Linked DNA regions of Homo sapiens: region 2 is linked to region 1. The links are contacts of gene promoters, found by promoter capture Hi-C in blood cells and fetal thymus (Javierre and others, 2016). All regions are on one chromosome and are shown on one strand. Each heading gives the region's core, a stretch centred on a gene start or on the middle of the fragment in contact. The rest is flanking DNA. Distances are from core to core; before and after follow the strand shown.

The links. Contacts are between HindIII fragments. The CHiCAGO score rates a contact against its expected background, and 5 or more counts as called.
Region 2: a contact is called between a fragment that was not itself captured here and the fragment with the promoter of BCL11A in region 1, in 1 of 17 cell types (total B cells). The highest score is 6.2, in total B cells.

The regions. Positions count from the first base shown.
Region 1 is chr2:60,551,377-60,557,949 of GRCh38, reverse strand. BCL11A (BCL11 transcription factor A) reads left to right here and starts at 4,296. Exons shown (of 4, transcript NM_022893.4): 1 at 4,296-4,734. The coding sequence starts at 4,680. RefSeq lists enhancers at 432-581, 1,804-2,412, 2,987-3,036 and silencers at 2,657-2,786, 3,727-3,816, 5,226-5,585, 6,106-6,165, 6,226-6,535. The HindIII fragment of the contact is 6,342 bases long and covers 1,767-6,573 here.
Region 2 is chr2:59,441,717-59,448,289 of GRCh38, reverse strand. No RefSeq gene overlaps it. Among named protein-coding and RNA genes, the nearest start is that of LINC01793, 230 kb to the right of the region's middle. The HindIII fragment of the contact is 5,851 bases long and covers 1-5,400 here.

The DNA.
Region 1 (6,573 bases), core at 3,047-5,546:
GAAAAGAAATAAAAAGAAGAAAAAAGGCTAAAGTAAAAATCAAGAAGGAAATGATTGTATTTTTAATCATTCATTCAGTCATTCACTTATTTATCTTTGAGTCTATGAAGGTGTTTCCCCCTAAAGGCAGACAGTGAATATTTTATTTTAATCTTGTAGTTTCCATCCTGACAGACCTTTTAACCCTTCATCTTCCAGCTCAGCCCGAGTTCCTCGCGCCAGGCGATCCTCGGTCCGAGGGCTGGGACTGTATTAAGTCTCCCTCTTCGAGCTGTTTGTTGACCACATTCACGTTCAGAGCCCTTGAGCTAAAAGCACTTTACACCATAAAATAAAAGCACTGTCTTTTTTTTTTTCTAAAAGGTTACGTCTGGAGGCCACGCGGCTCATACTTCATACCGAAAACTACTGAAAGGACTATGAAATCCTGTATGATTTACACTCTCTCACTGCATTAGGGTATAGATCTACTCAACTCTAAAAATACGGTGGGTTTCTAACCGACGTGAATATATGTGCATTATTTCAGAAAGTCTGTTAGAAAACTTGTCAACACATTATAAAGCATAAACTAGGACTTGGCTATTAAGTACGGAGATCAGAGGCAGAATATATACTGCAGGAAGTCCTGGGGCGTCTCCTCCGCGGGCAAGATAAAAAGGGGGAGGAGGGAAGGGGAGGGGTCGTCTGCTGGCCTGGAGTTTACACGCAGTGTCGTCACCAAAGGTTTGGGAAAGAGCCCACGGAACGTAATTACCCTTTCAATGGGAGCAGCAACAGCTCTACAGCCCCAAACGAAGTTAACTGAACGGCCAGAAAATAATTTTAACGTTGTCATAATTTATTACTTTCTAAAAGCCACTTCTGGAAAGGTAAATATACTTATTGTGTATCCAAGTGTGCGCATTTAAAGTGACCTTTCACCCCCTCTACAAAACCACCTGCATCATTAATCAATACTTACGTAATATTTTAAAATCTCTTAAAACGACACATCTTTCTTTAAACACACATACAAACCCTCCCCTCCCCCACTTTCGGGCTCTTTAGCGAGCATCCAGCAGTGCTGAGGGAGGGGTTGTCGCCCTAGGGGAGGGCACCAGGGGCCGGGGAGGGGGGTCGACGACCAGGAGGGATCAAATGCCGACACACAGCCGTGGTTTTCTGGACTGGGTGAAATCTGGCTGGGGGAGGGGCGGGAGCGGAGGGCACTTCCCATTTCACCCTGGGCATATTATGATGGTGAAATTAAATATATGTCGGGGAATCGTCGCTGCTTACCTCTCCTTTGGCACCCAGGGAAAGCAGCTGCAAAACTGGCTTTTTAATGTATGTTTTAAGATGTGGTTTAGGAAGGAACCCCCTGGAATCTGAAACAAGTGCAATAACATAGCAGACCTACTTGTAACTAAGTGCTTAATTTCCTATGTTTTTTTTTAAAAAGGAAAATCAATAAAATGTTGCCAGTTATTTATTGGAAATAGCCACAGATAGCAGCCCTGATAGGGTGCCATCGTCAGAGCGCACACAATTGTGTAATGAATTGTAATTCAGAAGACTGTTAAATGTGAACCACAGAACCTTTCAGAGGTAATAAAGTCATTACTTTTTACACTACAGCCAACCCCGAAAAGCTTTATACACACCATTATATATAAATCATACATATATATATATTTCCACAACACTCACTCGCTCATTTATATATCTTCTCTATAGATGGACTTTTATGGACGGGTGGGAACAATATTCAAATCTGAAAAGCTTGGTTCTGAAAGAATCTGGCTCACTATTGTTACCTGAAGGGGCTTTTCTTTTATTTATTTATTTTTCAAAGGCCTCCCAGTTGCACTTTCTTCTTCCCTCTCTTCACCTTCCCTCCAACCGTCCCCCACGTCGTCCTCCCCCGCCACCCCCCAAGAAGACATTCTTTTGGTGACTCCAAGGCTGGTTTAACAAGACAAAAAGCAGACTGTGGTGGAATAGAGATGCTGACCTGCTCTGAAGAACTCAGTGAAAAGGGGAAATGGTGTCACACACAAGCTACAGAGCTTAACTTCTAGTGAATCCTCCCGCTTCTTAAACAGAATTTGAGGTCTCCCTCCCACAAACTGGAGGGAAACAACAACAAACAACAAACCACATTGACACAATCCCAGTACAGCCCACATCTCTCTCAATGTTGAGCATCAAAACCTCCTTTTCTTCCTTAGAGGGGTCCGAAGCTCCGCCGAGCTAGGCAAGCCAGTCATTTTCTAACACAGTAGACTTGAAACTTTACTAAGACGAAACAGGAATAAACAGCCGCTTGCCGGCAGGGCTGCGGGATGGGTGAGCGCGTGCAAGCCCGGGGCCCTCGCTTAAAACAATAAAGCCCCCCCACCGGGTGGGTGAGTTTACGGAAGCGACACCCTTTAGACTGAAGAGGGGGATGAGAAGACGGGGGTTGTGGAACCGCTCCGAGGAGAGGGAAGGAGGGCTCCTCGCTCTGCAGACACACTCACACATATCCACCTGCAGCTCAGGGTCTCGCGGGCCATGGCGACCCGTCTCCACCCTGCACCCTCCGCACCTCCCTTGGACCTGAGTCCATTCTCCTCTCCCCCCAACTCCTTCCAGATTTGGAATCGGACTGCGATCTCCCCGGCGGCGGCGGCGGCGGCTGCAGAGTGGTGCTGGCAGGCAGGGAGGCTGGGAGGCGGGAGGCGCCAGGGGACTTTACAGGCACGTTTCTGAATAAACTTTCCAATCGCAGGGGGTGCTGTTGCTGTACATTTTACGTAAAACTGAAAGTATCCCACGCCAGAGTGAAGCCCGCTTTTTGACAGCGGCAGCACGCGCGTGTGTGTGCGTGTGTGCATTAAAGAGACAGGGTTTTATTTCCAACAGGTCTTCCCTAATTTCCAGGGAACGTCTGCAGAAAGGCGAGAGGGGGCTGCTGGCTCCTGGGTGTGCGCCTTGGCCGGCGGCGCCTGGGGAGCGCGGCGGTGACCCGAGGCGGTCATCTCACCACCGTGGTCTCCCCGCTGCTCCTGCGAGCCTGTCGCTCTCTCTCCATTCCCATTTTCTCTTTCCCTGGGTAACAGCACAGGAACAGTTGTGCTCTGCCCGTAAGAAACATTTTCTTCCCATCCCTCTGTGCTTTTGCAGTTGCTCTGGAGTGGGAGGGGGTGTGTCCCTCCCAGGGACCCGGCTCGGGGACCTCCCGCGGCGCCGTGAGCACATTCCCAGGGACTGGGACTCCCGGGACTGCCCGCGCTTTGTCCTCGGCCTCTCAGAGAGGTGGACGCCTCGGTGCCTCTCTTGCCCAGGCCCCCGGCGCTCCCCTCCGGGGGCCAGACTCTGGCTCCTCGTTCTTTATTCCTCGGGCTCTCTTTCTGCGACCCTTAGGAGCCGGGGACTCGGCGCTTTCAGTTGCATTCAGACCCAGTCGCTTGGCGGGGCGCTCAGATTCCCGGTCCCTGGCTCGGCCTTGGGGGCGCCCTCGGGCCCCGGCCTGCGCCGCCTGCCTCTCCCCGGTCCCCTCTTTCCAGGCCGCGCGGGCTCCTGGAGACTTGGGCGCTGCCCTTCCGGACCCGCAGCCCTCCAAACTTAGGCTGGATTCCGCGTTGCCGTGCGCTCCCTCCCACCTCCCCTCGCCCGCTGCGGAGCTGTAACTTGGAGGCTCAGCTCTCAACTTCGGGTGATTTTTCTTTGCTGTCCTCTCCTCGGGCAAAGTTTCCCGAGCGCAGCCGCGGGCTCGGGGCTTTTACTTCGGCCCCTGGCGTCCACACGCGGGGAGCGAGCGCGGCGGCGGCGGGGAGGGGAAGTGGGTGTGCGTACGGAGGAGGGTGTCCGGGAGCAACTCTACCTGGCTTCCCTCCGCCCGCGCTTCCCCAGCCCGGGGCTGCAGCCTCCCGGTGCACTCTCGCTCTATTTTTTTCTTTTTTGAATAATCTTTCATTTTAGAGTCCGCGTGTGTGGGGGGGAGCAGGGCGCACGTCTTGCTCCCCCCCACCCTTTCCTCCCACCCCTGCCACCCCTTTCTTCTCTCCCGGCCACGCCACCGCCGCGGCGCTCGCTGCGGCCACTGGTGAGCCCGCGGCCCCAGCGCCCCCTCCCCTCGGCCCGCCCCTCCCCCGGGGGCCGCGTCTGGCGTCCGCGGAGCCCCCCGCCCCGCACCTCCCCCTCCCCGCACTGGCCATTGGCTTGTCCTGGTCTCTTTTTCATGTCCAGCCCCTGATGTGTGTCCATTGGTGTGAGCTTCCCCTTCCCTCCTCCCCTTCTCTCCTGCTCGCCCTGCCCATGTTTTGTGTGTCTCTGTCCATCCAGACTCCTGACGTTCAAGTTCGCAGGGACGTCACGTCCGCACTTGAACTTGCAGCTCAGGGGGGCTTTTGCCATTTTTTTCATCTCTCTCTCTCTCTCTCCCTCTATCTCTCTTCTCTCTCTCTCCCTCTTTTTTTTTTTTTTTTTTTTTTTTTTTTTGCTTAAAAAAAAGCCATGACGGCTCTCCCACAATTCATCTTCCCTGCGCCATCTTTGTATTATTTCTAATTTATTTTGGATGTCAAAAGGCACTGATGAAGATATTTTCTCTGGAGTCTCCTTCTTTCTAACCCGGCTCTCCCGATGTGAACCGAGCCGTCGTCCGCCCGCCGCCGCCGCCGCCGCCGCCGCCGCCCGCCCCGCAGCCCACCATGTCTCGCCGCAAGCAAGGCAAACCCCAGCACTTAAGCAAACGGGAATTCTCGCGTAAGTAACCCAATAATAGTAATAATAATTATTAATAATCACGAGAGCGCGCAGGACTAGAAGCAAAAGCGAGGGGGAGAGAGGGGTGTGTGCATGCATTTTTAAATTTTTCACGAGAAAAACCTCCGAGAGTCGAGGTAAAAGAGATAAAGGGGGAAAAAACCCTCATCCCATCTGGAACCATTGCCGTGTATGCACTTTTGAGACAGCACGCACCTTTTAATTTTATTTAATTTTACAAAAATTTGACTCCTCCTCTTTCCTCCTTTCCGCCGCTTTATTTCTCTTTTCGAAAAGGAATGCAATGATTCCACTCCCCCCCCGCCCCGCCAGTTTTGCAAAATAATGAACAATGCTAAGGTTGCGAACAACTCACATGCAAACCTGGGGGTGGGAGCTGGTGGGGAAAGGGAGGTTGCTTCCCACTCACCGTAAGAAAATGGGGGGGTAGGGAGGGAGTGAGTACAAGTCTAAAAAACGATTCCCGGGGAGAAAAGAGGTGAGACTGGCTTTTGGACACCAGCGCGCTCACGGTCAAGTGTGCAGCGGGAGGAAAGTAGTCATCCCCACAATAGTGAGAAAGTGGCACTGTGGAAAGGGGCCCCCGGCGCTCCTGAGTCCGCGGAGTCGGGAGAGGGGCCGCGGCGACGGGGAGAGCCGTGGGACCGGGAAGGACGGGAGACGCGGCCGGCACTGCCGCCTTTTGTTCCGGCCAGAGGTGGGTGTTTGTCCCGCTGCCTTTTGTGCCGGCTCCTCGCGCTTGCCCTCCCGCGCCGCCGCCGCCGCCGCCGCCGAAGGGCAGGAGCTAGGGCCGGGGGAGGAGGCGGCCGGGGGCACGCGGGAGAGGGAGGGAGGGAGCCCGGACTGCTGCCTCCTGGGTTGCCGCTGCCCTCCCCTCCCGACCGAACCTCAGAGGCAGCAAGGAGAAGACTGGCACATAAATAAATAAATACATAAAAATAAAATAAATAAAACAAGGCAAGAGAATGTACAATTTCTTGCCCCCAAACCGAAGCCAAACGCTCTGCCAACCCTTTTCTGTGACGGCCTTCTCTTTGACTCCCCCACCAGCCCCCCTGCAAAAATCTCACAATCTCTCATCTAGAAAAAAATTTACAATCACCCTCTTCCCCCAAACCCCTTCAGTTGCAAACTTAGGGCGCCGACGGCACGGAGAGGGAGAGAGGAACTCCCTCCTCTTACTATTTTTTGGAAGATTTTCAAAAAAAGTGGAAGTGGATTTTGATTGGGAAAAATCTCGTGTCTGAATGTTTACAAGCACCGCGTGTGCGGGAGCCTCCTGCCAACAAACAGACAGAGGACCGAGCGCGGCGCGGCAGCCCCGGAGCAGGCGGCGGCGGCGGCCTGGCCTCGCCCGGGCCTTGCCCGACCTCGCCGCGCCCCAGCCCAGCCCCGGATCGCCCACCCGGCGCCCGGCGCCCACCCGCCAGGCACGGCGGCAGGCCACGCAGTGTCTCCGCGCCAGCCTGGCCCGTGGTCCTGGTCCGCCCCCAGCACAATGCCGAGACCTCTTCTCGACCTCCCAGACTGCGAAATCGGCTGGGTGAAACTCGGCTTTGCAAAGCATTTTTATTTTGCAGGGCAACTGTAAAAGCGCGTTCTGCGCCTCCCCTCCCCTCCGCCCTGGGTACTTTCTCAGACGTCTCTTGTCCACAGCTCGGGACCGCGAGGAGGTCACCACGTGCTTTCCCTGCCCACCCCCCACCCCGCCCGGTCTGGTCACCAGTCCCCCTGCGCCCCGAGCACGACTAGGCCAGGTGGCGGGGTTGCCGGGGAAGGGCAGGGGAGAAGTGTGTTTGAGTGTGCATTTTAAGGGCG
Region 2 (6,573 bases), core at 1,226-3,725, 1.1 Mb after region 1:
GGCTTCTTAATTATTCTTTCCAGGAAGTACTTGGCTTCCCAACAGGCCCTGCATCTCCTTCCCTCCACTTCACCCCACCCCATATTGAAGCTAACCTAGATTTCTTCAGTGCTGTCAGCATTTTCATGGGATGAACTTGGGGAAAATTTTGTGACCTACACAGAAGAGTGTCTTATGATGGGAAAAGGCTCTTTCTATCTTTTCTGGGTGATAGCATAAGATCTTTATTAGGTCAGTGCCTTGCACGAGCCACAAGCCTCTTAGGGAGGTAATCTGTCCAGCTCATCCTGTCACCCTTCAACTTAGTGTCACTCAGTAATGATGTACTCTGGCTGTCATCTCTATTATCCTTGTGCAATAAGTTCGTCTGCCTCCTTCTATCTTCAGTTCATTTGGAGTCCATTTAGCATCTTTACTTAGATATGTTTGGTAATTACATCTGAGAGCCCATGAAGCACTAACCATTCAAATAGTTTTCAACTGTACCTTGCATGAGAGAGCATGAACATTAGTAGCAAACACTACTTTTGATTTTCATGTGATAACAAAATCCAACAAGCAACAAAAATATACTAGAACAACAAAAATCTTGTGGCCTCCTTTGGGAAAGGTTACAAGATAAGTACTTACATAGTCAATGCCATTCACACAATGAGATGCTGCTCCTTCCCCACATCTCTTTTATTTATAATAGATCTTGCTTTAAAGGTACCTGCCCATTTATTGTAGATGACAGACTAATAAAATGAAGTCAGTTTAATAAACGCTGTATCAGAATATCCCATCTTCTAATGTGGCAATGTGAAATTTCACCACTGGAGGAAGCATTTAACATTCTGACTATTTTAATACTTTTAATAAATATTTGCAATTCCTGTGATAAAGCATCCCAGTAGAAAATGCATTTCCTCCAAAATTTATGGGGCCGCTGGCAGGTGGCCATTTTCTAATTTTCTGTCTCACATACATTTATTACAGATTTCTAACAATCCCTTTTTTGCTTTTTGAATGACTATGAGCATGCTGTTTTGTCTGAATAGGAATGTATGTGGTTAAAATTGAGGGTGGTAAACCAGAGCTTTCTGGTTTGCAAATTGGAGGGTTGTTCATATCCTCTTGGTGGCTCCTTCCACGTCTATTTTGTTCAGCTCTGTAATACATTTAAATCAGGTCTTCAGAATCTACATGGGACCAGAGGATCCTTTATTCAGTTCCTCAGTAGTGAAAGGTTGGGAGCAGGCATAGGGACAGGGTTAGGAATAGGTGTCAGGTCATAGAGTTTGACCTGTTAAACTTTGAGCTTACGCATAGAATGCTGCAGAAATTGTAAAATACTTGTTAGAGTAATACAACTTAGAGAGACAGTAATATCCAAGTTAGACATATTTCAAATACAAAGGGAAGAAAGCTACGCAAATTCTATTGGAAATCTTTCTGTAGAACAGAAAAAAATAACTTCTTAAAGTTTGTCATCACCCTTTAATATACATTTCCATCTTTGTTAGACATCTCCGTGTAAAATTAGTGGGTACATCTCAACTCAAACATTGCAAAACAAAGCTCACTCTTTGTGCTACTTCCTATTTCTACCTTCTGACATACTTAAGATCTAATTCCTTATCTGCATGCTGGATTTCACTTAAAGTTATTGTCATTATCCATAGGCAGAACAGAAATCTGAGTCTTTTTCAGGTATTTTATTTCAATGTTATCTCAAGGCCTTCTTGTCCTTCCTACTCAATGTCTCTTTACTCATTTCCTTCCTCAGTTCCCACTGACATTGCCCTAGCTTATTTGTTTATTATCACTGATGGCCACTACTTATTTATGAATCATTTAATCAATGCATTACTTCATTTAAGCTGTCCAACAGTCCTCTAAATCAGGTGATAATATATCCTCACTTTACAGACAAAGAGGGAGGCAGAAAGTCTCAGTGACTTTCCCAGAGTTACTCAGCTAGGAGGCCTTAGTACTGGGATTTGAACTCTGGCACCAAAATGAGGCTGTGAACCGCTAGGCTCTCCCCTTCCAGGCTCCCCACCAGCTATTATAAAACCTTCATAAATGATCTTTCTGATTTCTTTGTCCTGTGTCTCCTATTCCTCTTTATATTTATGCCACAGACTGCTTACAAAACCATGGTTCATACCACAACCTTTAAAACTTCTGGTAGTACCTTCATGCCCATCATTTATTCATTCAGTCATTCATTTATCATTCATTCTGTTATTTCATTTATTCAACACATATTTGTGAATCATACATTATGCACCAGGCAAAATCTAGGCACGGGGGATATGGTAAGATTAAAAAGTCATCCAGAGCTCTTGCCTAGTGAATGATAAGTTAGGAAATAATGATACAACACTATCTTGGCTAGTAGTAAGTACTATGAAGAAAACTAAAGCAGAGTATAGGATAGAGATAGAGAGAGAGAGAGAGGATTTGCTGTTTTAGATGAGATAATTAGGAGAAGCCTCTGCAATAGTTACATTTAAGTATGTGCCCAAGCAACAGGAAGGAGGATGTATTCTAGGCCAACGGGGAAAAGCATTCAAGGAAAAGTGTTAAGCAAGCGCACCGTACTTAAAGCAGGGCTGTGCTCAGCCTGTTCAGGAGCAGCCAGGAGGCCAGGGAGACTGAAGTAGAACAGAGAGCTGAGACAAGAGAATTGAGGGAAGCTGGGGTGCCCTATAAACTAGGGGTAGCCAATCCCTGGGCTCAGGACTGGTACCAGTCCGTGGCCTGTTACAAACCAGGCAGCAGGAGGTGATTGGCTGGACAGCGAGCATTACTGCCTGAGCTCCACCTCCTGTCAGATCAGTGGTGATATTAGATTCTCATAGGCATTAACCCTGTTGTGAACTGTGCATGTGAGGGATCTAGGTTGCACGCTCCTTAGGAGAATCCAATACCTGATGATCTGAGGTGGAACAGTTTCATCCCGAAACTGTCCCCCAACCCCCATTCATGGAAAAATTGTCTTCCATGAAACTGGTCCCTGATTAGAGACTGCTGCTATAGACTATGGTAGTGTCATTGGAATGATATTCCTTTCCCTCTCACTCCTGTATCTATAATTCCAACATCTTCTGAAAAAAGGATGACTTGTCACAATGTGCTGTCTCCAAAATTGGACATGCACCTTACCAGCTCTCTGACTAATCCATTCTGAAGACCCTCTTCACTGACTTCTGAAATCTTCCCATCTTTTAAGGCCTATTTCCAATGCCACAGCCCTAGTTAATTCTCTTATGTCCTACCCTGCTTTAGCTCCCTCCTTAATGAGGAGGGGGAGAAGGAGCAGGAATATCGTGGAAGGCCTCAGGGAGCCGACAGCCTTAAATCAAATCCTAATGTGCGCCTTGCTGGCCAGGTCCTTCAGAGCAAGTGAGGTCACCTTTCCAAGATACAGAGTGGTTTTGCCATTTTAAAAATACATCAGTACAGGAAAAAATCTCATAAGGTTTTTGGAGAAATAAGATTATTTTACATATTGTATAAATCCAATAAATTTCAGATTTAAATTACTTTAAAGGTAATTAGAGTTCTAGGATCTTGGGGCCTTCTTATTTATAACCCTAACAATATGCTCTAGTATTATGCTTCTACCCATGCTTTCCTGGGTTAGACATTAAGCATCTTGAGAACAAGGACCATATCCAGTTTATCATAGTATTTCCACCAGCAGGTGCTAAGAAAATGAGCAAAAATAACTTATTCAAACCAGCAATTTATATATTTCATCTAAAATATTTGTGACACAAATGAGGGGAGGATTTTGTAAAAGCTAAAATTAAGTGGTTTTGTTTTGTTTTTGCAGTGGGGTTGAAATAAAGGGCTTAAAGAAATACAACACACAAAGAATATCTTTATCACCTTAGGGCAGGGAAGAATTTTTGAACAGTATACAACAAGTACCAAACTCTGGGGAAAAAAAAGTGATAAGTTTGATTGCATTAAAATTTAAAATTTTGGTCCGTCAAGTGTGAGTAAAATGACAAGATACAAATTATAAGAAGATATTAATAATATAATGATCAGGAAATAATTTTTTTTTTGAGACTGAGTAGCTATGTCATCAGGCTGGAGTGCAGTGGTGCGATCTCGGCTCACTGCAACCTCTATCTCCTGGGTTCCAACAATTCTCCTGCCTCAGCCTCCTGAGTAGCTGGGATTACAGGCACCCGCCACAATGCCTAGCTAATTGTTGTATTTTTAGTAGAGACGGGGTTTCACCAAGTTGGCCAGGATGGTCTCCATCTCTTGACCTTGTGATCTGCCCGCCTTGGCCTCCCAAAGTGCTGAGATTACAGGCGTGAGACACCGTGCCCAGCCCAGCAAATAATTTTTATACAAAATGTAGAGAAAATGTCTACTAACAGAATGAAAAGAGAACAAAACTACAGAAAAAAAAGGAAAATACAATAAAATAGCAAGTTTACAGGAAGTAGGACACAAATTGGAATAAACAAATGAAAAATGATAATAATTCTTTATAATTTAGGAAATAATGTTACAGACCTTCGTAAGATACATTTTATGCTCATTAGTTTGGAAAAAATTAAGATGTTTGGTAATAACTATTAGTGGTAAGGACACGGACCCTTGAGAATGCATAGACTCTGCTGGTGGAACTAAAACTTGATACAACCATGTTGGAAAATTATTTGATACCAGTATGTGAATTTAAACATTTTCATGCCTGTGGACCAGCAATTCCATGTCCAGTTATGTGAATTAGAGAAAGTCTCACTCTTTAGTCCCAGGAGATATGTACAAGGATGTTCAGGGAAGCATTGATTACTGGAGCAAAAACCTGGGACAAACCCTAATTCCTTCAAGAAGACAATACATTTTATGCCTTTAATTGTGTCCCCTAAAATCCATGTGTTGAAGCCCTGTCACTCAGTGTAACTATATTTGGAGACTGAGGCTTTAAGAAGGAATTAAAATTCAATAAGATCATAAAAGTAGGGCTCTAATCCAACAGGACTGGTTCTTATAAGAAGAGAGAGACACCAGGGGTGTGCCCAGAGGAAAGGCCATGTAAGGACACAACGAGGACAGCTTTCTGAAATCTAGCAAGAAAAAAACCTCACTAGAAACCAACCCTGCCAGAACCTTAATCTTGGACTTCCAGCTTTCAGAACTTTGAGAACATAAATTTCTATTTTTTATGCAACCCAGTCTGCAGTATTTTGTTATGGCAGCTCTAGCAGTCTAATTTGATACATAAATCATTTATGATATATACACAAAATGGAATATTATAAAGCAATGAAAGTGAATAAACAATAGCTGTACCCAGCAAGAATATGAATCCTAAAAACATATTTACTGATCAAATCAAGCCATAAAATACTTTATTCAGTATTATACCATTTTTATAAAGCTTAACGAGAAATAGTTAATATGTAGTATTTTGGTATTATGCACATGTGAACTAAGACTAATTTTTTAAAGTAAGGGAATAATGAACATAAAACTCAGAATAGTGGGAAGATGAGAGTAAGGTGAGGAAGACCTTCATGTAAAAGCAATGGCATTATTAATGTTTTAGTTTTTAAGTCAAATAATGAGTTTACAAATATTCATTTTATATGTTTCAAACTCAATTATAGATAAAAATGACATTGTTTTTAAGTATAAAATGTTATATAAAAGGGAACAATAGCTGGTTTTGGAGAGAAAAAGTGCTTTTTAAATTTCATATGCAATATCTTAATCCATTTGGGCTGTTGTAAGAAAACTCCATAAACTGAGTGGCACAATAAACAAGATCAATTTATTTCTCTCAGTTCTGGAGACCTGTCAGTTCAAGATCAGGTGGCTAGCCGATTGAATGTCTTATGAGGGGCTTCTTTCTTGTTCATTATGGTACCTTCTTGCTATGTCTTCACATAGTGAAAGGGACCAGGGACCTTTCTTAGTCCTCTTTTATAAGGGCACTGATTCCATTCATGAAGGTTGTGCCCTCATGACCTAATCACTGTCCAAAGATTCCACCTTCTAATGCCTTCACTTTAGGGGTTAGGATTTTAACATATATTTTGAGGAGGGAACACAGACATTCAGATCATAGCAACAAATATATGGCCTTCATTTTTTTTACTTGCAGTTAGTTTCTTCTCTTTTTCCTTCACAGCCTTTACCTTCTTCTTCTTTCTATATAACTTGGTTCTTCAGAAACTCTAACATTAGAGAAATAGCCAGCTTCAGTAATTTTTTTGTCATGAAAAATGCCCCACTAGTATAACAGGTAAGTGAGAGTACAATATTCAGAATTGATTCTAGTATAAAATTAATTCTCAGTTACTCATAATATTTAATTTGTATATGCAAAGTATGCCAGTATGCCGAGAAGATAATTGGCTTTTCTCTGAAGTCTCTCTGTCTACATATTAATTTCATCTTCTCTCTCAGACCCACATACTCATTGAAACTCATTGGCATTATCTGTGTGTACTTAGAGGAGTCGCAATATCTATAAGTTTGTCAAACATCATCATATCTGGTCTGTTGGGCAGAATTTGTTTGTGTTATCCCAATTCTATAACCGTACAACAT